2 separate regions of the Homo sapiens genome follow, and region 1 is linked to region 2. The links are contacts of gene promoters, found by promoter capture Hi-C in blood cells and fetal thymus (Javierre and others, 2016). All regions are on one chromosome and are shown on one strand. Each heading gives the region's core, a stretch centred on a gene start or on the middle of the fragment in contact. The rest is flanking DNA. Distances are from core to core; before and after follow the strand shown.

Evidence for each region. The method cuts DNA at HindIII sites, captures the fragments that hold promoters and counts their contacts. A CHiCAGO score of 5 or more calls a contact.
Region 1: the fragment with the promoter of TLX2 here is called in contact with a fragment that was not itself captured in region 2 in 4 of 17 cell types (naive CD8 T cells, naive CD4 T cells, non-activated CD4 T cells and 1 more); the score reaches 8.9 in naive CD8 T cells.

Annotation. Positions count from the first base shown.
Region 1 is chr2:74,513,155-74,517,627 of GRCh38, reverse strand. TLX2 (T cell leukemia homeobox 2) reads right to left here and starts at 3,178. Exons shown (of 3, transcript NM_016170.5): 1 at 2,422-3,178; 2 at 1,758-1,995; 3 at 480-1,655. The coding sequence starts at 2,821. The coding sequence ends at 1,439. RefSeq lists enhancers at 941-1,440, 1,441-1,942, 4,192-4,473 and silencers at 2,471-2,540, 3,121-3,220, 4,258-4,317. The HindIII fragment of the contact is 6,557 bases long and covers 643-4,473 here.
Region 2 is chr2:73,775,631-73,780,107 of GRCh38, reverse strand. DUSP11 (dual specificity phosphatase 11) reads left to right here and starts at 5. Exons shown (of 9, transcript NM_003584.3): 1 at 5-234; 2 at 1,732-1,807. The coding sequence starts at 134. RefSeq lists enhancers at 34-103, 184-233, 364-513. The HindIII fragment of the contact is 2,270 bases long and covers 338-2,607 here.

The DNA of each region.
Region 1 (4,473 bases), core at 1,929-4,428, 740 kb before region 2:
TTTTTTAGACGGAGTCTCGCTCTGTCACCCAGGCTGGAGTGCAGCGGTGCAATCTCAGCTCACTGCAACCTCCACCTCCCGGGTTCAAGCGATCCTCCTGCCTCAGCCTCCTGAGTAACTGGGACTACAGGCATGTGCCACCATGCCTGGCTAATTTTTGTATTTTTAGTCAAGACAGGGTTTCACCGTGTTAGCCAGGATGGTCTCGATCTCCTGACCTTGTGATCCTCCCGCCTCGGCCCAAAGTGCTGGGATTACAGGCGTGAGCCACCGTGCCCTGCCTGCCCTTGGACTATTGACTTAGGTATTCTCCATCATCTTGCACATTGCAAAGGTGGTTGTCGAATTTGGTGGAAAGGTTTAGTCCTTAGAACTCTGCTTTTCTCCTCAAGAGTTCCCTCCCTCAGAGATTCTATCTGTTCTCATTCATTCTATCTAGGTCCACCTCTATGTGGATGTCAGCTGATCTCCCTCAAAGGCACTTCTCCAGGATTTATTCTCTCTAGGTATAACATTTAGTTTTGCCTATACAGTTAATTTTGCTCCAGTCTTCCCAATTTCCCTTTCATCATCCACAGCACCATTGATTTCCTGATGCTGCACATTTCCAGTCTTGGAATTACCTTTGATTCTTCTTAAGCTTGTCACTTCCAAATTATTTTCCAAATTCTCTTCACCCTAACTCCACTGGGCCCATTAACTTTGTCCACTGTTTCCTCCTCTCCCTTCTCTGTCCCTATGTGACACCGGAGCCAGATTTTCTCTTTCGTTGGGTGTGTAAGTATCCGACTCGCCTCCTGCCCGGGCGTGTTGCCGGAGGATGTGGCCAGCAGGCTGAACACACATGACAACGTGAGGCTCAAAGTCAGGAAGGAATCCTTAGCGATTATTTTACAGTTGAGGGATGAGATGCCCGGGGTGGACAACCCTCTGGTTTCGGTCACAATCAGCCAGCCTCTCGCGCTCCAGCACCCCCTCTATTGCTTCGCCGTGGTCGGTGTCTTCTTTCCTTCACACCTTTGGTACAGACCCAGCCGGCACCGCGCGCAACGCCGCTAGAGCCCCTCAGAGCCCCAGCTCCCGACCACCCGCCGGAGAATTTCGAGTCCCTCAGGAAAGCAGCTCCCATTGGCCAGCCCGGCCCCCTCCCCGCACCTCATTGGCTACTGTCCTGCAGGTCCCGCCCTCTCGGCGCCTCAGGTTCCAGCGAGGGCGTAACGGCAGTGAAGTGAAAAATGGCGGGAAAGGCCGCCTCTGAGCTGGCCGTGCATCTGCGCAACGCTGGCTTGGGAGCCGGCCGGTGGTGGAGGAGCCCTCGACGACAGCCTCAAGGCCTGCCGCTCCTCACGCGCCCGGCTGCCACTAGACCATGGACGCAGGCAGCCGCGCGCTCCACCGCTCCGGGCCCGGCGCTCCACGCCGATCGGACGGGCGTCGCTCACACCACCGAGGCGAGCCCGGACACTGAAGCCACTTTGTTGTCCTCGGCCCAGGGCTGCAGGTTCTGCAGCGCGAAGAGCGACGAGTTGTGCAGGCAGAGAGGGTCCGGGGGCAGCGGCGGCCGCAGCGGCCGTGGCAACGCGTCCTGCTGCAGATGCAGGAGCAGCCGGCCCGCGCGGTGCCGCTCGGCCTCGCGCTCCTCCGCCGTCTGGCGCCTAAGGGAGGGAGACGCGGGGTCAGCGGGGCGCCCGCCGCGTCGCTTCTCACCAGGCCCTGCTCGGGAACCCCAGTCCGCCCTCGCCCGCGCCGCGCCTCACCGCCACTTGGTGCGTCGGTTCTGGAACCACGTTTTGACCTGTGCGTCGGTCATGCGCAAGGCCTTGGCCAGCGCCGCCCTCTCCGCAGAGGCCAGGTACTTCTGGCGCAGGAAGCGCCGCTCCAACTCCAGCACCTGTGAGCGGGAGAAGGACGTGCGCGGCTTCTTCCGCTTCGGAGGGGTCCGGTTTTGGTAGGGGTGGCCTATGCGGCGCGTCCCAGAGAAGGGCGAGAGCGCAGCTACCGGGAGGAAGAAAGACCAGGGCAGGATTTGCAGGGTGGCCCGAGGTGCCACTGAGAAGGCCGCGCGGCTGTCCAGGCCGCAGAACTCCCGCGCCCTGTCCTTACCCGGGCCCTAAGCATCAGCCGAGCCCTATAGCCAAGAAAGGCCCTTCCCCTGGGATGCGAGGGAGACGTCCCCTGTAACTTCACCCTCCCCTCCCCACGCGTGGACAGTGGGACTACAGAGGAGGGCGCGGGCACCGACGGCAGCTCCCTCCCCATCACCTCTCGGAGGCAGGACCCAGAGATTTGAGTTGGGGGAGGATCCCCTGGGAGGATCTAGTGGGAGGTGTGAAAGGGGTCCTTGAGTTGGAGCAGAAAGCTAAGAAATGAGGAGACGGGGTCAGAGTCGGGCGTGACGCTGGAGGGGTCAGACAACCTCACCCGTGAGCCGGTCCTTGGCAAAGCGGCGGCCGCTGTCCATCCAGGGGAAGGTGAGTCCCGCTAGGCCTCCGGCGCCGCCCAAACCCGAGGGCCCAGGCACTGCAGGCGCCCCCCCAGCGGGCGGCGGCACAGGCAGCGGGCGGTGCGCAGGGACGCGGATCACGCCGCCTGGGCCCACTCCGGAGCTGCCGGGCAGCGGGGCAAGTGAGCCGGCGGGACCGTAGCCCGAGGCTCCGTGGTATCCACCCGAGAACGCCCCATTCTCCCCATGACCCTGGCCCCCGCGACCCAGGCCTAGACCGCCCCCTGGGGTTTCGGGGCCGCTCAGGATCTGATCGATGCCGAAGCTGATTGGCTCGTGGTGTGGGAGGTTGTGTGGACCCAGCATCCCCGGCTCCATCGGTCTGGGCCGAGGAGAACCGCCGGAGGTTCGGTGGTTGGGGAGGATGCCTCAGGCAGCGCCAGAAGCCCAGCGGCGGCGCGCTCCGGAGAGTGGCCTCAGGGGCCCGCGGGGCTGGCCAAGGCAGGGCGCCGGGGTCCCCGAAACAGCAGCATCCCTGTGCACCCGGAGCAGCCGCGCCCGTGCCAGCCGCTGCCGGGCGTCAGCGCAGGGACTTGCATCCCGGGGGAGCACGGCCAGCTGGGGCCCCTGGAGCTTCCTTGCTGGCTCTTAAGCGCAAATAGACGCTGGGCTGCCGGCGCCGCTGCCCAAGTCCCGGGTGGAGAGGGTTGGCCAGCTCCGGCTGGGGCAGTGACTGACGGATCGGCCCGGGTGGGTAGTGGGGGCTGGGGGTAGGGCAGGGGCGGGGCCCAGCAGTTAAAGGGGAAGGGACGCCTGTTTGCGCCAAGCGCAGGGGGAAGGCTGGCTGGCGGAGATGTGCGGGGAGGGGGACAGGGGGCCAGGGTGTTAGGAGCCAGGCTCAGCGCGGGAGGGGCCCGAGCATGGGCCGCTGAGTCAGCGGAGATGCTCACCGCGCCTCCATCCTTGCTGGCCTCCGCCTTTGGGCGGCCTCCGCCTTTGGGCTGCCTCCGCCTCACCGGCTTCCTCCGCAGGTGCCTCCTCCCCCAGCCCCCACTCTTCGCCTCTCGATGGATCCTTCTGGCCAACTCCCGGATTCGTTGTGGTCCCCGCCTAAATGCTCTCGAAGACCAAATCTCGTTGTGGTTTCCCGGCTGCGTAAGAAGCGGCTGGGGAACGGCGCCCGGTGAGCTGCAGGCCCAGGAAGAGAACAGGTGTGGGAAGGGGACGGCAGGGGCTAAGGGCGGGGAACGGCCGCTTTGGGCTGGCGATCGTGGTGCGCCTTCTGGCCTCTCCTGTAGGTCCCCCCAGCCCTGTTCATGCGCACCGGTAATTGGTGTCCTGTGTTTCCTAGAATTTCGATTTTCCAAAATCCGTGTAAAACGGACCATGGCTCAACCCGGGCCAAATCAGGCCGGCGGGTTCTTGGGGCTGGCACTTACCCCCGGACCCCAAGTGCAGGGAGTCCTCAATGCAGGACTCTGCCCCTCCATTCTGTGCCTAGGAAGTCTGTTCTCACACTCTTCCTCCTCAACGGCGGGAGGGCGAAATCTCGCCACGGGGGACACGTGGGACCTCACTGAGGCCTTGGTTGGATCCTGGCCGCCTTGTTTCCCATAAACATTTTACCCCACCCAAACTCAAAAAATGGCCTGGAGCTGTCAGAGAAGGGAGGTGGGGAAAGACCTAAGCCGCTTGGTGACCTTGTGACCTCTGGCCATGAATCCAGGAGCCGGGAGTGCGTGAACTCTGCGTCCTTCCCGGGGATGGGACCCCCGCGGGCGGGCCCCTGAGCCTTAGACCCGCCCCCGCCGCCGCCCTGCCCGGTGCAGGCCGCGGTAATCGGGTTAGCTGGGCCGGAATTACATTACCTTCCCCGGCCCGCCCCGGCCCCCGGGGGGGCCCTGGCGCCTCTGAGCCGGTGAGACTGGGCTCAGAGAGGGGGGCGCTTCTACCATCCTGCGGTGGCGGTGGCGGGTGGGCACCAACGAGCAGCTCAGCCTACCTCTGACACGTGGTGGCCAAAGGACCTT
Region 2 (4,477 bases), core at 223-2,722:
TAGCGAGACGCTGGAGCGCGGCGTAGGTGGCTGCCGAGTCTTTTCCTGTTTAGGGTCTTATCCTGGCATTGAGGGCGCCGGACTGGCGCTTTTGGCCGACTTGGCATTGGGTGGGCGGCTTCTTGGGACCCACATGAGCCAGTGGCATCATCCCCGCAGTGGCTGGGGCCGGAGACGCGACTTTTCAGGACGCTCCTCAGCCAAGAAGAAGGGCGGAAACCACATCCCCGAAAGGTAGTATGTCTTGGTCCCTTGGCGTGGCCTTTCCAGCTCGTGGCTTCTGGGTCTGGGCTTCATCGTTTGTGGTCTCTGCCTCTCGCCGTTGCCATCGCAAGCTTGACTTGTCCGCCGCTTGCTTTGAGGCTTTGACCCTCTGCGCCACCCGCTGTAGCTGAAAGGGGCGATGTCTGTGATGTCCTGTGATTTCTCCATATTCTTGTAAAAGGGAGGTTCTGGCCATTGCTCTTAGGTAAAATACGGAAGGATTGCTTTAAGGTGGGACTGTTACTGTTGGGGACACTCCTTAATTCCCAAAATGGAACCTCCTCAATTCCTTGTTACGTTGGCACGGAAAGTGTAATGGTTTGAGTTAGGAACCCAGCAGTAGTAGCGCCCTGAGATCTCACATGGAAAGTTGGTTTGTATTGTTTCCAGAAATCACAAAGAGCATACTTTGTTACTTCCTAACAGGCCTCATTTGAAAGATAACTCCTTTATACGTACAAATGATTAATTTTGAGACTTTGCACGTAGGTGCATTGAACTGTTTTTACTCCTTGAGACCATCCTCCACCATCTCATACCTCAATAAATCCTCTTCATTTTATCTACTATCTTTTGACTGTCACTTTCTGTCAGTACCCTAATACAGGTCTTGCCTGACTTATTGCAGTGGGGTTCTAATTAGTGAATCTCCTGTTTGTTTTCTTCCAATCCGTTTTTTTGTTTTTGTTTTTGGGATGGATTTTTGCTCTTCTCCGCCAGGCTGGAGTGCAATGGTCCAATCTCGGCTCACTGCAACCTCCGCCTCCCGGATTCAAGCGATTCTCCTCCCTCAGCCGCCCAAGTTGCTGGGATTACAGGCGCCCGCCACCACACCCGGCTAATTTTTTTTGTATTTTTAGTAGAGATGGGGTTTCACCATGTGGGTCAGGCTGGTCTCGAACTCCTGACCTCAGGTGATCCACCTGCCTCAGCCTCCCAAATTGCCGGGATTAACAGACGTGAGCCACCGCGCCCGGCCAGTTCCTAGCATTATTAAGTGAAGTTCACAGTCCCTCTTCTAGCAGGTTTTCTCTTAAAATATGAACTTGAAGTTTCCTACTAATTGAACTTTATGGCATCAGTCGTATGAAAACTAAAAGCGTGAAGTGAAATAATTGAATTTAAATTATTTCAGTGAATATGTTTGTATTAATGGCACTTTAGTATCTGGTACTGGGCCAAGTTTAACAGGGATACAGAAGTTCTGGGTATCTCCGGTTTTATATAGGCCTTATTTGAGTTGTACTGTTGTGTTGGCTTGTGTTCGTTTTTATGATGGGGAAACAGGAGAGAAGGACGGTATAGGTCGTTACTTGGTGGGGTTTAATAAGTGGAGTGGCGAAATGCAAAGCAGAGAGGAGAGAGGACATGTTGTGCGGGCTATGATTCCCATTTTCAAAAAGTCTTATTTTGTGCAAGGAAACAAGGCTAACATACAATTTGGCTAACAAAAAATATATCTAATAGGTGGAAAGACTATCTCCCAGTTGGACAGCGGATGCCTGGGACTCGTTTCATTGCTTTCAAAGTTCCTTTGCAAAAGGTAAGCAAAAGTTAATTCAGTATTCTTTCAGGCATCTGAGTTCACCATGCAGAACACTGCTCTCCACTCTATCACATTCCATTTTCTCTTTTTATAGCAAATACTTTGTAATGACCCCTTTACTATCCTGAAATGAAGTTCATAGGTACATACAACCTACTTCATATTTTAAACAAAAATACCAATTAACACCCTAACTATAATATAAAAAATAAAATAAAAGTAATTTATAATAAAATAATATTTATTTCAATATATAAATGTTTGGACATGACTACATTAAAAGACATAGAGTAATAGTTGCCTGCGCCATGAATTCAAGAATTACAAATGTAGACTGATCTAGGTGGGTTGTATTGCTTTAGTGGTAGGAGTTTCTGTAATAGATTTCCAAATATAACAAAGTATAATCTTCATTTGGTTGATAAGGTGATTATTATCCTGGAAAATTCAATATATATTAGTATTGTACAAAAAATACTTTGTGTTTATTTGTGAAATGGAGTTAGGTTCTGAGGCCAAGCTAAATATGAACAGCTTTTTATCTATATTAATCTTGAATAGGACATCCAAAAGCCATTCAGGATGTGGGACACATTTGTAGGACTGTCCTGAATTTGGCAAGTTGTTTAGAATTTGTAACCCTTACCCACTGAATGCCAGTGGGACTCCTTTCCTTCCATGGTCACAATCAGAAATATCCCCCGGATCATCAAGGTCAGGATTTCAGTGGGGAAAATCTGAAGATTGTATTTTTGTTTAAACTAGGAAAGGAATAGGAGGGATAGGAGGGGAAAGCTTTTGACAGCCATAAAAAAGATGAGAAGGTGAAGACAAATAATTGTTTTCTAGATTCCATGTCTTTCTTATTAGACTTCCCCAGCATAGCTCAGATTAGTATCAGGAGAAGCCTACTTGAAACGTTTTGGGAATTTACTTAATTTGTGACTTATAGATCAGATTTCCTTTTTCAACTGCTGTGTCAGCTTCTCTGCATGTCTGGGCTTAAAAATGAGTCATTTCAGGCCAGGCCTGTTGGATCATGTTTGTAATCCAGTACTTTGGGAGGCAAGGTGGGTGTATCGCTTGAGTCCAGGAGTTTTAGACCAGCCTGGGCAACACTGAAACCGTGTCTCTACAAAAAATACAAAAATTAACCAGGCGCGGTGGCGTGTGCTTGTAGTCTCAGCTGCTCAGGAGGCTGAAGTGGGAGGATCGATTGAACCCAGGAGGTCAAGGCTGCAGTGAGCCATGATCATGCCACTGTACTCCAGCCTGGGCAACAGAGCAAGACCCTGTCTCCAAAAAGAAGGTGTTGGAGACACAGGGAATTTTTAGGGAAGTGAAACTATTCTGTGTGATACTCTAAGGGTGGATACATGTTATATATTGATCAAAACCTATAAAAGGGCTTCACGTATATTAACACATTTCACAACAATCCTGTGCTGATGAAGTAGCAGTAGTACTAATATCTCTTACTGAGTGCTTATTCTGCACTAAGCTCAGAGAATAGATGGTTACATCTAATAAATAATTTTGTAGATAATCAAACAGGCTCAGAAAAGGAAGAATCAAAACTTGAACTTAGTTCTTTCTCTCATTTTTTTTGTGGCAAAATATATATAACATAATATGTACATACAATGCATAACATAGAATGAATCACGCATACCTAACCTCTAGACTTTGGTGATAACGATGTGTCAGAGTTGGTTCTTCATTTGTAACAAATGGACCACACTGGTATGGAATGTGGATAGTGGGGGAGTCTGGGTGGGTTGGGGAAGGCAAAGTACATGTGGGAACTATCTGTCCTTTTGGCTCAGTTTTGCTGTGAACCTAAAACTGCTCTGAAAACTAGTCTATTTTTTTTTTTTTTTTTTTGAGATGGTGTCTCGCTTGTCGCCCAGGCTGGAGTGCAGTGGTGTGATCTTGGTTCACTGCAAGCTCTGCCTCCTGGGTTCACGCCATTCTCCTGCCTCTGCCTCCTGAGTAGCTGGAACTACCGGCGCCTGCCACCACGCCTGGCTAATTTTTTTGTGTTTTTAGTAGAGATGGGGTTTCACCGTGTTAGCCAGGATGGTCTCGATCTCCTGACCTCGTGATCCTCCTGCCTCGGCCTCCCAAAGTGCTGGGATTACAGGCTTGAGCCACCGCACCCAGCCAAACTAGTCTATTTTTTAAAAAGTACATTGCTGGCACCTGAGTAGCCAGACAGATTGAAGGAACAGAGCATAAAGTTCAAAAATAAGCCACATACATAAAAGAATATTCAGCAATGAAAGCCATCCTTCATATATGTAGACATGTGAGAAATATTTATTTGTGAGGCCGAGACAGGAGGGTTGCTTGAGCTCAGGAGTTTGAGATCAGCCTGGGCTACATGGCAAGACGGCAAGACCCTATCTCTTTTTTTTTTTTTTTTTTTTTTTTAAATTTTTTTTTTGAGATGGAGTCACTCTGTCACCCAGGCTGGAGTGCAGTGGTGTGATCTCGGCTCACTGCAAGCTCTGCCTCCCGGGTTCACGCCATTCTCCTGCCTCAGCCTCCCGGTAGCTGGGACTACAGGCGCCTGCCACCACCCCTGGCTAATTTTTTGTATTTTTAGTAGAGACGGGGTTTCACAGTGTTAGCCAGGATGGTCTCGATCTCCTGACCTTGTGATCC